3 separate regions of the Homo sapiens genome follow, and regions 2 and 3 are each linked to region 1. Evidence: promoter capture Hi-C in 16 types of primary human blood cells and fetal thymus (Javierre and others, 2016). All regions are on one chromosome and are shown on one strand. Each heading gives the region's core, a stretch centred on a gene start or on the middle of the fragment in contact. The rest is flanking DNA. Distances are from core to core; before and after follow the strand shown.

Region 1 (3,159 bases), core at 175-2,674:
TGAAAATTGCAGTGATTCGGGGAAGCTTGGCTTCTAACTCCCCACTGTTTGAAGATGGGCTTGTTTGTTTTTTAAAACAGCCAACATAATTCAGCTGGAGGAGGTACAAAGAATTTTCTATTCCTTGTTTCTGTAGAAATCGATGGACTTTAGCTTGTCTAATTGTCCCCCCTGCCTTTAGTATCTAAAATAAAATAACCCTCGTTGCTTGCATTACTCAACGCATTTCTGCGTCTTGGCGTCTATGGCTAAACGAGTATTAATTAGACAGTCCGCAGAGAGCTGGCTGGGGATAGAAGGGGAGGTGGGGGAGAAGGGCAGGGATCACAGCAGGGTGGACTCGTGGCCCTGATTTGGGATCCTGACAGCAACTTACTAGGTGGCCTGAGGGCTGGGTGCCAGGGGAGGCAGCGGGTTCCAGTAGCATCTGACCTGCATTAGGGACAGGGGCGCGGCGGAGGGGGCGAAGGGGGCGGGGGTGGGGGGAAGGTGGCTGGGGTGAAGCCCAGCTTCGCAGCTAGCTGTGGGCAACAGAGGGAGTAAGGGGGGGCAATGAGGCTGGGGCCAGGCGCCAGCAGCAGCCACGCCCCCCACCTCCCCCGATTTTTAGGGAAAATTCTCCAAAGCTCTCGCATCCTCCTCTGCCTCCTTCCACCCTCCACCCTCCCAGCCTCCACTGAGACCTCTTTAAAACCACCCAGGGGCCGCCGGGGGATGAGGCCGGGGAACGGGCTGGACTGAGGGCGGGGGCTCGGGGGCAGCGGACGGGAAACGCCTCGAAAGCAGCCAGACCCGGCGACTGAAATGAGGCGGAGGAGCTTGGCGAGGGGAGGCGCAGGCTCGGAAAGGCGCGCGAGGCTCCAGGCTCCTTCCCGATCCACCGCTCTCCTCGCTGACCTCCGAGTCACCCCCGGAAGCTCCCGCCACTGCCGGGCGAATAGACCCCCGCGGACCCCCAAGCGCGCGGGGCCGGGGCCCTAGTTCAGGCCCTCGCTGCCCCTTTAAGGGTTCTCGAAACTTTCCCCCCGGTATCAGATGAGCCTCGTCACATCCGTTGGCCGTGGCCGCTGGGGCGCTTTCCGAGGAAATTCGGGACTCGAGTTTCCCGGGGAAGAGGCGCGGCCTGAGCCCGGCGAGGGTGGGGAGGGCAGGCGCAGGTGGACCCCGGCGCCCCCCGAGCCCCGCTGTGACCTTGGCCGCGGGGGAGGGGCTGGGCCGCTGCGGGGCAGTCGCGGCCGCCAGAGGGGGCAGCGGAGAAGAACTTGCCCAACTTGGCGGCGCGGGCTGGGGCGGCTCTGCGCCTCCGCGCCCGCCTCCCCGGCCTCCGCCTTCTCCCCTCCCGCGAGCCTCCTCCCCTCCCGCGAGCCTCCTCCCCTGGGCCCTCCTCCCGTCCTCCCCGCCGCCGCCGGTCCCGGTGCGCGCCCATCCCTGCCCGCAGCCCCGCGCGCCGGCCGAGTCGCTGAGCCGCGGCTGCCGGACGGGACGGGACCGGCTAGGCTGGGCGCGCCCCCCGGGCCCCGCCGTGGGCATGGGCGCACTGGCCCGGGCGCTGCTGCTGCCTCTGCTGGCCCAGTGGCTCCTGCGCGCCGCCCCGGAGCTGGCCCCCGCGCCCTTCACGCTGCCCCTCCGGGTGGCCGCGGCCACGAACCGCGTAGTTGCGCCCACCCCGGGACCCGGGACCCCTGCCGAGCGCCACGCCGACGGCTTGGCGCTCGCCCTGGAGCCTGCCCTGGCGTCCCCCGCGGGCGCCGCCAACTTCTTGGCCATGGTAGACAACCTGCAGGGGGACTCTGGCCGCGGCTACTACCTGGAGATGCTGATCGGGACCCCCCCGCAGAAGGTAGGGACCCCCGGCTGCTGCCGCGGGCTTTTCGGGCTCGTTGGAGGGAGGGGGCTGTCCAGAGACGCCTCCACGCGGCTTAGCGTCGCCCCCAAAGCAGCAGCTGTCCCCGCACAGAAGAGCGGGGAACGCAGAGGGGCTCGGGTGGGCCGGGGAGCGGGGGCGCTCGCTCTTGAGTCGCGGAGGACGGCAGCCCCCGCCCGGGGCGCACTGAGGGGTGTGCGCGAGTGTTTCAGAACTTGTGAGCTCCCCCTCCGCGGGGCTGGGCGGGAGAGGAGACCTGGAACTTGCCGCCTCCAATAACGTGATTTCCTTCTTGCGGGCGACACCTACTTCCAGCGGGAGACGGAGCGGTGGGCCTTGGGCGACGGGCTATTATGGGGAAAATCACCTCGTGTTCATACCCTCCCTCCCCCCCGCCCCCCCCCCACCCCACCACCATGCTGTCTCATTGCTAAAGAGGCTCGTGGCCGGCTTCCAAAGGCGCAGTACCCTTTAAAAAGGATTTATGCATGAGCTCAGCTAAAAGCAACCCGGTTAAGAAGTGGCTCGCTTGCTGCTCTGAGGAAGGAGCAGCGTCTCCCCTGCGCCCGCTTTCCTTTCTCGGAGTTGGTTTGTCAGCTGTGTCCTCGCTCATCCGGCGGCCCTGCCCCTCTGCACGGAGCGATGCATCTACACGCGGGTGTGCAGAGTGTGAAAAGCATTCCAGCTACCGGGAAAAAAACAGGGGCTGAGTGAGGTGTCCGGGGACCAAGTGGTATCCCGATTACAACACAAAAATAAAATCAAACAGCTTTCCTTTTCTCTTACTCTGATGTTCATTTACTAACACTTTTTGTAGCAAGAAACAAATGTTCCCAAGCACAGTGATCTGAAAAAAAAAAAAAAAAAATCCCAATTGATCTGCCCCCTCCTACTTTCAAACTGTCTAATCCAAGTGGGATTTGAAGTCCTTTGCTCAATTGAATGCACTATTTGAAGATAGTTTATTTTTATTTTTAACATTGTCATTTGGGTTTTGATTCAGCTATGATTCCCCCATAAATAGAACATACTCATGACTTTTGTATAATTCTCATTAAATTATTCAAGACTTTAAGAGGAAAGACATGCCATGCTAATTCTTTTAAAAAAGGAAACTGCCGAATAACTTCTGTAGTTGTTTAATTAGTTTAGGGGGAAAAAAAAACCTTCAAAAGCGTATATTCAAACTTTGATTCTAGTTGCCTTTCGTCTAAGTCATGGGAAGCCACGTGAGTGATCTTTGCCATCTCCAGGAGTGGATGGTTAGAGGGAGGGAATAGGAATCCCCATCAGCT
Region 2 (3,159 bases), core at 222-2,721, 280 kb after region 1:
GTTGCCCAGGCTGGAGTGCAGTGGTGTGATCTCAGCTCACTGCAACCTCTGCCTCCTGGGTTCAAGCAATTCTCCTACCTCAGCCTCCTGAGTAGCTGGGATTACAGGTGCCCACCACCATGCCTGGCTAATTTTTGTATTTTTAGTAGAGACAGGGTTTCACCATGTTGACCAGACTGGCCTTTTTCAAATTTTCAACTCAGCACCAGAGTGCAAGGTCTTCCACGTGGTCCCCAGGAATGCGGGTGCATAACAGGGTTGTTTCCAGCCGACCATGATGAGTGCAGAGCTCTCTGGGGTCCCACTGTATGCAGAAAGAGGATGCTTCCTTATTAGATTCCCCACCTCGAGCAAGCCCATGGGGATTGATTTTTTGCCTCTGCACCAAGTCAGGTTCATAAGTTCCCGTTCGAATTTTCTTACCTAGACAGATGCCCTTGTGGCTGAGCCGGGCTTCATTGCTGCCTTCTCCTTGAGCCCCTGCCTGGCCACTGTTACTGGGGCTGGCCTCTGACTACCCCTCACTAACTTGTGAGTCCACCGATACATTTAAAGGTGCAGCTTTCACATGTCAGCTGGCATTTTTAGATGTTTGCCGTGGAAGGGTGAGCCAGCATATGGCGTCAACCGTATTGTTAAAAACATAAGTCTCTGATCACTTTTTATTGATTGCAAGCAACATAAAAGTTGTTGAATCTCAAATTGCTCCAAATGCCACTTTTTCAGAACCTACTAGACAAGTGGATCTCTCCAGTCTCCCTCCAGAGAGTTTACCTAATATGACCACAGAGGAACTGCTCCCGGGTCACTCTGCCGGGGCCTAGGACCCATGCACAGTGGGTGCCACAGTGCTGCTCATGAGGCTGCTGTCGCAGGAGTGGGGAAGGGGGAAGACCTGGGCAGAAAACAGTGCCCCCAGTGTGTGCCCCCCTGCACCTCCCCCGGGTCTGGAAAAGCTTCCTTTTAGAGGAAGCCAGGAAGTCAAATGGCCCACACAACTCCTCTGCAGAGGGAGGCCCGGGACCTCCTTTTCATTCTCTGTTCATCTTTACACATTTCCATTATTTTCTCTCCATTTTCCTCAGAAATCTCTGCCCCTGTTAGAAAATCAAATCAAGGAGACTCACCAGAGAATAACAGAGGAGCTACAAAAGTATGGTGTCGACATACCGGAAGACGAAAATGAAAAAATGTTCTTCCTGATAGATGTGAGTGTTGCCAGCTGCATGGAGCTGGAGAAGCACATGTCATGGTCAAAAAAGGGACCCTGGGCCTTATGCACTTCCTTCTTCACTCCCCCAAGGCTGATCCAAAGACATCTGGCCCGTAGCACTCAAAGGGTGGACAGGGCTGAGGGAGGCAGGGCAGGGAGTGCAGATGTGGGGGTGGAGTCAGCAGCGAGGGATGCTCAGGCTGCGTTGTGCCTACTCTGTCACGAGCATCACCCAGATCCCTAAGGCAGTAAGGGGTGGGATAGGATTTTCTAGTGCCAAAACCTCTTCTTTCCCCTGATCCACAGTGTCCCATAAGAAAGCAAAGAATGACTCCCCACCCTCCACATAGGCACGGCCTCCAAATGACCTTGACACTTGGATTTGAAGTCTATCCACTTATACTGATGTTTTTCTTCTTGACAGAAAGTTAATGCCTTTAATCAGGACATCACTGCTCTCATGCAAGGAGAGGAAACTGTAGGGGAGGAAGACATTCGGCTGTTTACCAGACTCCGACACGAGTTCCACAAATGGAGTACAATAATTGAAAACAATTTTCAAGAAGGTGAGTGTCTTAGTCCCTTCTTTTGGGCTGCTACAACCGAATACCTGAGACTGGGTCATTTATAAACAGTAGAAACTTATTGCTCATTGTTCTGGAGGTGAGAAATCTATTCTTAAGGAATCAGGAAATTTGGTGTCTGGTGAGAGCTTGTTCTCTGCTTCAAAGATGGCACCTTCTAGCTGTGTCCTCTCATGGGATAAGGGACGAACAAGCTTCCTCGGACCTCTTTTTTACAGGGGTACCACAGGCATACCTCAGAGATATTGTGGGTTCAGTTCCAGACAAAAAGAATATTGCAATAATGCAAGTCATATAAACTTCTTGGTTCCTGGTGCATAAACAGTTCATTTATGCCCTACTGCAGTCTATTAAGTATGTAATAGCATTAGGCCTAAAAAATATGTATGTACCTTAGTTTAAAACACCTTATTGCTAAAAAATTGCTGGTACAGAAACAAAAAGTGAGCATGTGCTACTGGAAAAAAATGGTGCTGATTTGCTTGACATGGGATTGCCACAGACTTTCAATTTGTAAAAAATACGGTATCAGTGAAGTGCAATAAAACAAGATATGCCTGGAATGCCATTATGCGGGCAGAGTGCTCATAACCCAATCCTTCCTAAAGGTCTCCTCTGTTGATACCATCACACTGGGGATTAAGTTTCAACATAGGAATTTTTAGGGGACACCAACATGTAGACCATAGCAATGAGTCAATACCGTGGTAAACCTGATACGTTGGCTTAAGACAGAGAAGAGTGGGGCAGTTGGGGAGGATGGTCAGGATAAGGAGCTAGTGACAACTAAAGCCATGTTTGCTCTCTTCTATATCACTGAACCCAAATGACCATCCACTGATGAATTGATAAACCAACTGGCTTGTGTCTGTGTGTAGCGGTTGGCTTTGGCTGTCATAACAAAGTACCACAGACTTGGGGGGGCTTAAACAGTAGAAATTTATTTTCTTACAGTTCTGGAGGCTGGAAGTCCAAGATCAAGATGTTGGTGGAGCTGGTTCCTTCTAAGGCCTCTCTCCTTGCCTTGCAGATGGCCTCTTCTCATTGGGTCCTCATGTGGTTGTCCCTCAGTGTGTGTGTCCTCATCTCCTCCCACAAGGACACTAGGCAGATGGGATGAGGGCCCACCCTAGTGACCTGATTTCAATTTAATTACCTCTTTGCCTGTCTCCAAACACAGTCAGATTCTGAGTTTCTGAGGGTTAGGACTTCAACATTGGAGTTTGAAGAGGTCACAACTCAAGCTCAGCCCGTAACACCAAGTCCTGGAATATTTCCAGCCACAGACAGGCACAGAGTGCTGGTCCACAGCACCCCATGGATGAACCTTGAAAATGTCATGCTGAGTGAAAGAAGCCAGCC
Region 3 (3,159 bases), core at 82-2,581, 260 kb after region 1:
AAGGGGGTTCCGAGCTGGGCCGAGATGGGGCATGCGCGGGAAGACCCCTGCCCGCTGTTCCCCCCCACCGCCCCAGTGGATGCCATGCCTGGGGCCTCCCCGGCGCGTGGGGCTGACGCACCCTCGGGGTCCATCGTAGTTGGCCGGGATCGTGGAGTGGGTGCGGTGGACGAAGGGAGGCAGGACAGTCCCGGGGGTGGCAGAAGGAGCCCGGGCACAGCTGAGACCTGCGCTCCCATCCCACCAACACTCACAGCAGGTGCTGCCGAGCTGGGCAATTGGGATGGCCCAAGTTATTTGGTTAAATTTTAAATCACGTTTGTTACTGGGAAGTAGAGTCCAGTGATGCTAACCGCGCCTCTACCTCCACCACCGGTGTCAGTCCCAAAGGGCTCCTAAAATGGCTGTGTCATCTTTCAGCCTTGGACCGCAGTTGCCGGCCAGGAATCCCAGTGTCACGGTGGACACGCCTCCCTCGCGCCCTTGCCGCCCACCTGCTCACCCAGCTCAGGGGCTTTGGTAGGTAGCAGTGCATTTGGTCTAAAGGGCAAGATGTTCTCTCTTTTATTCATAACAAATTTAAATACCAGCAGGGTTTGGGGGGAAAAACGCTTTCAGAAGAAAAGGTGAATGTCAGTCCTGCAAGAGTTAGTTTTAAAACTAGACTGAATTGGCACATGTATACCTATGTAACAAACCTGCACGTTCTGCACATGTACCCCAGAACTTAAAAGCTTATAAAAAAAGAAAAAACTAGACTGGATTATGTTGGGAAAGTGTAGCCTCTTCCATCTTAGGCATTTCCTAGAACGTAGGCAGTAGGTGGTCCTTATTAGGAGTTTTGGGAGAGGAAGGGGGCTGAATCCTACCTCCCATCCCTGCTCCTCTATGGGGTCTGAGCTGAGGAAGCTTCACCACAAGGAGAGAACCCCCTGACAACCCTGGATGCCACCTTTACCCTCACTGCAGGAATTCTGTGGCCACACTGCGAGGAGATCGGTTCTGGGTCGGAGGCTACAGGAAGACTCCCACTCCCTGAAATCTGGAGTGAAGAACGCCGCCATCCAGCCACCATTCCAAGGTAAGGCAGAAATGAAGTGGGCCGTTGGGTTCTTTCTTTTCTTTCTTTCTTTTTTTTGAGACAAGGTCTCACTCTGTCGCCCAGGCTGGAGTGCAGTGGCGCCATCTCAGCTCACTGCAACCCCCGCCTCCCAGGTTCAAGCGATTCTGGTGCCTCAGTCTCCTGAGTAGCTGGGATTACAGGCACACATCACCACACCTGGCTAATTTGTATGTGTTTAGTAGAGACAGCATTTCACCATATTGGCCAGGCTGGTTTCAAACTCCTGGCCTCAAATGATCCACCCGCCTTGGCTTCCCAAAGTACTGGGATTACAGGCACGAGCCACTGCACCCAGTCAGGTTCATTTTAGTTGTTATGTTAACCAGGTTTCCTGCACCTGTGCGCTAACTTTCACTTTCCCAAAAGGTTTCAGGGTGACCCAGCAGGCAATGAGTGATTCTCAAATTCAGGATTTATTGTGAGAGATTCACACACACAATTGAGCAGACATTCACAGTACAATGATTAAAGGGAGTGATAGGGTAAGGACCCACAGTGGAGGCTCTGGAGGCCAGCCCACTGACAGCCACTCCAGGGAGTCCAGAAGTCCCGCTCTAGTGCTGGGTGGTGGAGGGAAATCTGTTCCTCCAGGGACCTCGTCCTCGGCTGCCCAGCTGCCAAAGTCAGGAATAAGCTTTCAGAAATCTCACTGCCAAGATTCCGAAAACGCTTCAGACATTGCTAGTCCCTTGTCGCTTTTGCGATCCTCCACAGGTGTGCGTGCCACTGGGTCCTTATTCACTGGGGTCTCTGGTGGCATTGGGCCACAGCAAGTGTTCCCTCATCCCCTTAGTCTACCACACACATGCTTACCACTTTGAAGAAAAACCCCTTTACTATGAGCGAAAGTGAGAAACACGTATGTTTATTGTTTCTAAAGAAAGAAACTTAATATGGGCTTAATGCTACCTAGTGAGTGCCTCCATTTTGAGACATTAGGGTCACAAGTCATTATTATATATCATGGGCACAAACCTGCCCTGGGCAGGGACGGAAGGAAGCCCCTGCACAGGGGCAGTTGCTCAGGATGTGAGAAGAGCCTGGTGCATAACCCCATCCATGCCCACCTAACATCTCAGGCTCTGACCAGTGGGGCTGTGCAGTAGCGAGTGGATGGAGGGCTGGAACCCTGCAGCCTCCTCTCCAAACACAGGGTGCAGCCAAGACATTTTAGGAGCAATTTGGGATGGAGAGCTAGGAGTCGCCACCTCTTGGCTCTTCCAAGGCCGGAACTGGTGCCTGCACTCAGTTCAGTTTGAAGACTGCAGCTGGATGCCAAGTTCCATGGAGGAGTAAGAAACCGGTTTGAACTCCCGAGATTGCCCTGCCCCTGAAATCCAAACTGATGTTCCGAATGATCAGGGAAAGGTACAAACGTTTATGGTTTACAGACAAAACCCATAAGGTTTAGCTTTCAGAGAATCTCATTTTATGAAGCAAATTAGGGAAGGGAATCTACTCACCAAGTCCTGTTTCAGCTGATTGAGTGGAACCTGTGGTCATGTGGTACAAGTCCTGGTCTCAATGATGCTCCTTATCTGGCTGCAGAAAGGCCAACTGAGGCAACCATAGCCCAGAAGACTGGTACTCCTGAGAGGCAGATGAAGTGGTGGTCTTTGATATCGAGCCTGGGATGCCCTGGGCACATGAGGTATTTCCAAAGGCATGGGAGTTTTAGGGAATAAATTCCCAGATTGTCAGACTCCATAAGTACCGTTTACAATGGATTACCTTTTATAACCATCCCAATCCTACCTGACAAAAGAGGTGGGCAGATTACGAGGTCAGGAAATTGAGACCATCCTGGCTAACACTGTGAGACCCCATCTCTACTAAATAAATACAAAAAATTAGCCGGGTCTGGTGGCGTGCACCTGTAGTCCCAGCTACTTGGGAGCCTGAGGCAGGATAATCGCTTGAACCCGGGAGGTGGAGGTTGCAGTGAGCCAAGATTGCGCCACTGCTCTCCAGCCTGGTGACAAAGCGAGACTGTCTCAAAAAAAAAAAAAAAAAGAAAGAAATACATCCCTTTCTTC

The links. Contacts are between HindIII fragments. The CHiCAGO score rates a contact against its expected background, and 5 or more counts as called.
Region 2: a contact is called between a fragment that was not itself captured here and the fragment with the promoter of BACE2 in region 1, in 2 of 17 cell types (naive B cells and total B cells). The highest score is 5.4, in naive B cells.
Region 3: a fragment that was not itself captured here is called in contact with the fragment with the promoter of BACE2 in region 1 in 1 of 17 cell types (total B cells); the score reaches 5.9 in total B cells.

The regions. Positions count from the first base shown.
Region 1 is chr21:41,166,736-41,169,894 of GRCh38, forward strand. BACE2 (beta-secretase 2) reads left to right here and starts at 1,425. Exons shown (of 9, transcript NM_012105.5): 1 at 1,425-1,840. The coding sequence starts at 1,529. It overlaps MIR3197 (microRNA 3197), which reads left to right and starts at 822; the gene lies at 822-894. RefSeq lists a silencer at 984-1,433. The HindIII fragment of the contact is 3,467 bases long and covers 24-3,159 here.
Region 2 is chr21:41,444,363-41,447,521 of GRCh38, forward strand. MX1 (MX dynamin like GTPase 1) reads left to right here. Exons shown (of 17, transcript NM_002462.5): 12 at 1,086-1,208; 13 at 1,638-1,779. Among named protein-coding and RNA genes, the nearest start is that of MX1, 20 kb to the left of the region's middle. The HindIII fragment of the contact is 1,035 bases long and covers 955-1,989 here.
Region 3 is chr21:41,426,786-41,429,944 of GRCh38, forward strand. It overlaps MX1 (MX dynamin like GTPase 1), which reads left to right. Exons shown (of 17, transcript NM_002462.5): 2 at 421-519; 3 at 970-1,081. Among named protein-coding and RNA genes, the nearest start is that of MX1, 2.1 kb to the left of the region's middle. The HindIII fragment of the contact is 848 bases long and covers 908-1,755 here.